2 separate regions of the Homo sapiens genome follow, and region 2 is linked to region 1. The links are contacts of gene promoters, found by promoter capture Hi-C in blood cells and fetal thymus (Javierre and others, 2016). All regions are on one chromosome and are shown on one strand. Each heading gives the region's core, a stretch centred on a gene start or on the middle of the fragment in contact. The rest is flanking DNA. Distances are from core to core; before and after follow the strand shown. Region 1 holds the start of ALOX15 (arachidonate 15-lipoxygenase). Region 2 overlaps SPNS3 (SPNS lysolipid transporter 3, sphingosine-1-phosphate (putative)).

Region 1 (3,618 bases), core at 322-2,821:
CGCGCAGAAAGAGAGCGGCGGGGAAGGGAGGGCGAGCAGCATCTTGGAGCTGGAGCTCAGAGCCCAGGTGTGGGGGGTCAGCAGGTCCGGAGGCTCTCGAAGGTGGCGCCAGGGGCTTTGGATTTGGTCCCGAGAACAAGCGGGAGCCGTTCGAATGTGTTAAGCAGGGGGAGTGAATTAGGGAGAAATCATTCCGGCTTCAGAAGGGCTTGGAAGGTCTGCAGCAGAGGTGGCGAGGCCGCTGGAGGTTTGAAATGGCTTTTAAAATAGAGAAACCGGGAGGACCGACGACCGCTCCGGCGACCGCAGTTTCCAGGCACCAGAGCTGTGTGGAATGAGGGGCGCTCAGGAGCATCCCCTTAATTCCAAGGAGATCGAGTAGCGGGAACATTTATTGAGCCTTTACTGTGTGTCACCAACTGCCCACCATAGGGAGGAAAAAAGGGAGGAGGGAGCGCGCCTTTCCACCTTCCGTGCCCCGTCCCCTCACCATGGAGTCGCGGGGCCACCTGCTCCGTGCGCATTTTCTCTCTTCCTGGCTCCCTTTGCCCCGCTTTCTCGGAAGCTCGGAGCAAGGGCGTGGAGTGCGGGGAGCAGGGCTCCGCAGGTTCAAGAGGACGCGGGCGGTCGGGGGCGGGACGGATATTGGGCAGGGACGCGGGAGATGCTCAGGGTCTAGAACTGACTGCGCCGGATTCTTGTTTAGAGGGAGGTGAAGAGAGGAAGGAGGCGCGGGTGACACCGGGGGAGGCAGGAGGAGAGGGCTGGGAGGTGGGGAGAGGGGAGGACCTCATCCGGGCATGTTGCTTTGACGTTCCCTGAGACAGACATCCGGATTTGGGGATCTGGGAGAGAGCTAGAGCAGTGATGGGAATTTGGGCTTTCGCGGAAGAAAAAAAGTTAACAGGACCGGGTAGAACACCCGGTAGATGTGACATGAGATATGACGGGAGGTGGGTCGGGAAATCGAGAGCGTTCTCCTGTCTTGACTCCCCATCCCTTCCCTCTCACCACCCACTCCACCCCAGGTGATAAAGCCTGAAAGGTAGAGATCCAACAGCGCTAGCGGTTGAAACGGTTTTTAAAATAGAGAAAGCGAGAGGACCGACGGCGGCTCCAGTGACTGCTGAGTTTCCAGACAAGGGAGCTTTGTGCAATGAGGGGCGCACAGGAGCATGCCCTCAATTCCAAGGAGATCGGGTAGCGGCAACATTTATTGAGCGCTTACTGTGTGCCACCGACTGCCCTAAAGCCCCCCACCCCCGTGGCCTCCGCGCGCTTTGAGCCCAATGCGCGGGCCCTTGGCAAAGAGAATCGGCCAGAGGCCAACGGGGGCGCATGTCCTCCCCGGTATTTGACTGACTCGGAGCCAGGGGCGCAGCCCACCCCGCCCGGCTCTGGGGAGCTCACCTTGCCCCGTGCGGGCCACAGTCGCTTCCCGAGCGCCGCCTCCCCGTGCTGGCCGACCAGCCACAGCTGCACCTGGTTGTTGGAACCGGCATAGAGCGAGGCCCCAGTGGACACGCGGATGCGGTAGAGACCCATCTTGCTCAAAGATGTTTCGCTCCTTCTGGTGGAGAAGGGTGGACGAGCTAAATAACCCAGCCTGAGACCCCGCCCTCTCGGAGGTCGCTTGGGGTCGGAATGTGGGTGGCAGGTCTCCAATCAACTCCGCCTACCGCTGGGGCCCCCAGCTCCAAGGAGCAGAGCTTCAAGGGGCAGAATTCAGCCCCAGTCCAAAAGGCGGTGTCCTGGCGAGAGCAGGGAGTGGAAACCACTATCTTGACGGGAGGGAGAAAAAGAAAAGGATTTGGACCGAAAACACGCAGGAAGAGGGAATCAACGCCTGGTACAGCAGGCAGGCGAGGTGGGGGTAGGAGTTATGCACGTGTGTACCACGGACTTTGGGCCAAGCCTGGGTGGCTGGGAAGCCAACCTCCATCTAAACGCACGCGTGCACACACACACACACGCAAGGACACGCGCGCGCACACACAAGCCTCACAAGTTGGATTGCAGGAGAGGGTGAAGTGGGCGAGGAGACCCAGTTTGCAGTGGCATTTGAGGAAGGTACATTCAGGCCACGGAATTCATTCGACCAGCTTTGCACACTTGCCTTCTCTGTGCCAGCCACTGGGACTCATTCCTTTTGAGCATAAAAGCCGCTGCCTCCCTGTTGCCTGCAGAATAAAAGTCCAAATGTTTCTGGCATTCAATGCCCTTGCTAACCTGACCTGCTCTCCTCACCTCTCATCCCACTGCACCCTGGCATCTCCTGTGCTGGAGCCATGTGTTCCCCGGAACCCCCCCTCCCCCCGCCGCCCCTGCTGTTCTCTCAAAGAACTCACTTCTGGGTTAGTCTGGTCATGCTTCTAAACCCTAATTCGTCTCCAGTTTCTTTTTGGGCTGGAGCCATGTGTTCCCCAGAACCCCACCTGCTGTTCTCTCAAAAGAACTTGCTCCTGGATTAGTCTATTCATCTATTCATGCTTCTAAACCCTAGTTCACCTCCGGTTTCTCAGGAAAGTCTTACCCGGTACTTTCACCCCCCACCACCCCACCAGAGTGAATTAGCTTTCCTTTTTTTTTTTTTTTTGAGATATAGAGTCTCACTCTGTCACCCTGGAATGCAGGGTGGAGTGCAATGGCACGATCTCGGCTCACGGCAACCTCTGCCTCCCGGGCTCAAGCAATTCTCTGCCTCAGCCTTCCGAGTAGCTGGGATTACAGGCGCCTGCCACCATGCCTGGATAATTTTTGTATTTTTAGTAGAGACGGGGTTTCTCCATGTTGGCCACGCTGGTCTTGAACTCCTGACCTTGTGATCCACCCACCTCAGTCTCCCAAAGTGCTGGAATTACAGGTGTGAGCCACGGCGCCCGGCCCAGCTTTCCTTTCTAACACTTTTCTCCTTGCGCACACTTCTACTGTTGCACAGTTAATACTGCAGTGTGAGCATTTGTATGTGTGTATCCCCCACTAATGTGAGCCCGTCCTAGGCAGGGACTACACACCCAGCAGGACTCTCACTTTTGTTTCCCCTGGAGACGGCACAGTGTCAGGGTTTGTGGGTGTCAATAAGTGTTTGCTGAAACACACTGAGCTGAAAAATTCATTATAAATGAATGCTTCCCTTGGGGGAGACAAAGGGAAACAAATTATCAGGCAATGTAAACAAAAGGGGAATACTAACATAAACTTCATGGCATGGATTACAATCAGCCTGGTAACACAAATGAAGTCCACGAAAATATGTCTGTGATGCATATTTTCTGGTTTGCTTGTTTTTTGTTTTTGGTGTTTTTTTTTTTAATGAGATGGAGTCTTGCTCTGTTGCCCGGGCTAGAGTACAGTGGTGTGATCTCGGCTCACTGCAACCTCCACCTGCCGGGTTCAAGCGATTCTCCTGCCTCAGCCTCCAGAGTAGCTGGGATTACAGGCACCCACCAACATGCCCGGCTACTTTTTGTATTTTCAGTCGAGATGGGGTTTCACCATGTTGGCCAGGCTGGTCTTGAACTCCTGACCTCAAGTGATCCACCTGCCTCGGCCTCCCCAAGTGCTGGGATTACAGCCATGAGCCATCATGTCCGGCCCTGCTTAATTGTTTACTGGGAA
Region 2 (3,540 bases), core at 904-3,403, 190 kb before region 1:
CAGGCTTAAGCAATCCTCCCACCTCAGCCTCCCAAGTAGCTGGGACCACAGGCACACGCCACCATGCCTGGCTATTTTTATTTTATTTTATTTTATTTATTTTTTTTTGAGACAGAGTTTCACTCTCGTTGCCCAGGCTGGAGTGCAGTGGCACAATCTTGGCTGACTGCAGTTTCCACCTCCCAGGTTCAAGTGATTCTCCTACCTCAGCCTCCCGAGTAGCTAAGATTACAGGCATGTGCTACCATGCCCAGCTATTTTTTTTTTTTTTTTTGTATTTTTAGTAGAGATGGGGTTTCACCATGTTGGGCAGGCTGGTCTCGGACTCCTGACCTCGAATGACTGGCCCGCCTCAGCCTCCCGAAGTGCTGGAATTACAGGCGTGAGCCACCGTGCCCGGCCGAACTTACAGATCCTTAAGGGCTCTCTTGGCTGTAAGAGTCTGTGATGCTGGGAGGGCCCTGTGTGGATGGAGGGAACATGAAGGGCTTGGTAGCTGGGGCATGTCCTCTGGCTGCCCCTCCTGCTTAGGGGCTGGCGGGGGTGCATTTTCAGGCAGCCTGTCTAAATAATCAATCCTAAGTCTCATGAATATCTCGAGAACCTGCCAAGGTCAGCCCAGACCAGGACTCAGAGGCAGCTAGCATACATCCGGGATTTGGGTCATTTGACTGGGCTGAGCCAGACCTCGCACAGCTTGGAAGCCTGGGAAGGTTTAGAAAGCACTTCTTCTTCTTCTTCTTTGTTTTTTTTTTTTTTCCATTTGAGACAGAGTCTTGCTGTGTTGCTAGGCTGGAGTGCAGTAGCACGATCTCGGCTCACTGCAACCTCGGCCTCCCGGGTTCAAGCGATTCTCCTGCCTCAGCCTCCCAAGTAGCTGGGACTACAGGCGCACACCACCACGCCCAGCTAATTTTTGTACTTTTGGTAGAGAATTTAGAGAATTCTCAGTCATTTGTGCAAAGTGAGGGTGGGAGAAGAGAGGGCAAGCTACATCGGTCAGCGTGGACCAGTCCCGCAGAGTCATCAGTGCTGGTCAGGAGCTTGCTCAGAGGACGACAGGGAGCTATTGAGAGGTTGGAAAGATCCTGGTTGGACTGGTGTTTTCAAGAGTTCACAGTGGGCACAGTCTCAGCGTTCCCTTTGAGCTCCTTTATTTGTTTTGTTTTGTTTTGTTTTTGAGACGGAGTCTTGCTCTCTTGCCCAGGCTGGAGTGCAGTGGTGTGATCTCAGCTCACTGCAACCTCCACCTCCCGGATTCAAGTGATTCTCCTGCCTCAACCTCCTGAGTGGGCTGGGATTACAGGTGCCCACCACTGTTCCCAGCTAATTTTTGTATTTTTTTTTTTTTTTAGTAGAGACGGGGTTTTGCTGTATCGGCCAGGCTGGTCTTGAATTCCTGACCTCAAGTGATCCACCCACCTCGGCCTCCCAAAGTGCTGGGATTACAAGCTTAAGCCACCTTGCCTGGTCCCCTTTGAGCTCCTTTAAAAGGGGGCTGGAGGTTGCACAATGGACCAGGAGGGTGAAGAAGTATATTCAAATCCTGGTCTGTAATTTACCAGCTGGGTAATCTTGGCCTTGACTTTTCTCAGCCTCACCTTGCTCACCTATCCATCTGGGAATTGTTGCCCAAGCTGGAGTGCAGTGGTATGATCATAGCTCACTGTGGCCTCGAACTTCTGAGCTCAAGCGATCCTCCCGCCTCAGCCTCCTGAGTAGCTGGGACTACAGGTGCACGCCACCAAGGCTGGATGATTTAAAAATTTTTTGTAGAGACAAAATCTTTCTGATCTGGAACTCCTCCCACCACAGATCTCCTGCCACAAAATGCACTCCTGGGGAGCCTTTGTGGAGGTTATTTTGGAGGGACAGGTCTCCACAGGAAGGATGTACAAGGGGAAGCCAAGCAGAGTAGAAGTGGCTCTAAAAGTGGGTGGGAAAGGGACGGAAGTCAGGTAGGGGCTGCCTGAGAGGGGTTCAAAGACGGGGAGTGGAAGGATGGGATTCAAGGAGGGAGGGCGTGTAGAGAGCCCAGACAAGGGCCAGGTGTATCACAGGGGCTCAGTAAATACATGTTTGCTTCCCTCCATTCCTCTTAGTACTGGGAGCTGGAAAGAGAGAAGGTTGGGGCCAGGGTGGGACCCTGGAATTCAGATTTTGAGTGGGGCAGTTTTGGGGGGTGAAAGGGTAAGGGTCAATGGAGATGAGGCAGGCTGGGACCTGGGGTGCAGGGTGATCACCCACATGGCCAGTGGGATCCCCAGGATGAGACAGGAGATGAGGCAGGAAAGGGGGTAGGGGAGAGCAGTGGGACATTGGTCCCTGGGAGTATCAGTGAGGAGGGTGGGTAAGGTTCTGGGTCAGGTCAGGGGCCCACAGCCATATTCCCTGTAGACACCAGATCATGCACTTGAGCCGAGGGGCTAGACCTGGGGCTGGGAGCAGGATAAGAGTCCCTATGCTAAGCTCACCCAGCTGACCAACCCTTCTGTGCTCTTCCCCATCAGCCTGATTTTTGGGGCACTGACCATCATGACCGGCGTCATTGGGGTCATCTTGGGGGCAGAAGCTGCGAGGAGGTACAAGAAAGTCATTCCAGGAGCTGAGCCCCTCATCTGCGCCTCCAGCCTGCTTGCCACAGCCCCCTGCCTCTACCTGGCTCTCGTCCTGGCCCCGACCACCCTGCTGGCCTCCTATGTAAGTGAGAGCCTCTATGGAGGTGGGGACAGGGTTGGGGGGCGAGGAACTCCTGTTTCCACAGGCTCATGCTGCGCCCGGCCTTTATGTACAATTATGTTGATCACTCCTTCTGAGTAGAGCTTGTTATCCCCATTTTACAGATCAGTAAAGAGAAGCTTGGCTGGACGCGGTGGCTCATGTCTGTAATCCTAGCACTTTGGGAGGTCAAGGCCGGCCTGGCCAATATGGTGAAACCCTGTCTCTACTAAAAATACAAAAAATTAGCTGGGCATGGTGGCAGGCACCTATAATCCCAGCTGCTTGGGAGGCTGAGGCAGGAGAATCGCTTGAACGCGGGAGGTGGAGGTTGCAGTGAGCTGAGATTGCGCCACTGCACTCCAGCCTGGGCAATGGAGCAAGACTCCATCTTGGGGGAAAAAAACAGAGAGAGAAGCTTACCAGGAGTTCCACAGTGAAGAAGGGGCAGAACTGGGATTTGAGCCTGAGCTTTTCTGACTGTAAAAGGTGTCCTCTGAGCATTGGGTTAATGTGTTAATTTGAGAAAATAGGACTCATTTATTGCCAGGGCATATTGTGGGCCCAAGAAGAAATAGAGCAATTCTCCCCAGGTTACAGAGGAGGGAAGCAAGGCCCAGATTGGTTATGGCCAATGTGGACGCTGCTTTAAGGGCAATAATCATGGTAATATCAAGTGTTCCAAATCCACATCCCATCACACCCCTTCATGGGCCTCACACTCTGGCTGTGCCAGCCGTGTGGGCACACACACTTCCCAGACTTTGCACGCGTCCATTTCTTCCACCAAGAACACCAGTTCCTCTTTTGTGCATCCTGAAA

The links. The method cuts DNA at HindIII sites, captures the fragments that hold promoters and counts their contacts. A CHiCAGO score of 5 or more calls a contact.
Region 2: a fragment that was not itself captured here is called in contact with the fragment with the promoter of ALOX15 in region 1 in 1 of 17 cell types (naive CD8 T cells); the score reaches 6.9 in naive CD8 T cells.

What each region holds. Positions count from the first base shown.
Region 1 is chr17:4,640,107-4,643,724 of GRCh38, forward strand. ALOX15 (arachidonate 15-lipoxygenase) reads right to left here and starts at 1,572. Exons shown (of 14, transcript NM_001140.5): 1 at 1,411-1,572. The coding sequence starts at 1,545. The HindIII fragment of the contact is 20,783 bases long and covers 1-3,618 here.
Region 2 is chr17:4,450,506-4,454,045 of GRCh38, forward strand. SPNS3 (SPNS lysolipid transporter 3, sphingosine-1-phosphate (putative)) reads left to right here. Exons shown (of 12, transcript NM_182538.5): 8 at 2,511-2,700. Among named protein-coding and RNA genes, the nearest start is that of SPNS3, 18 kb to the left of the region's middle. The HindIII fragment of the contact is 1,406 bases long and covers 1,451-2,856 here.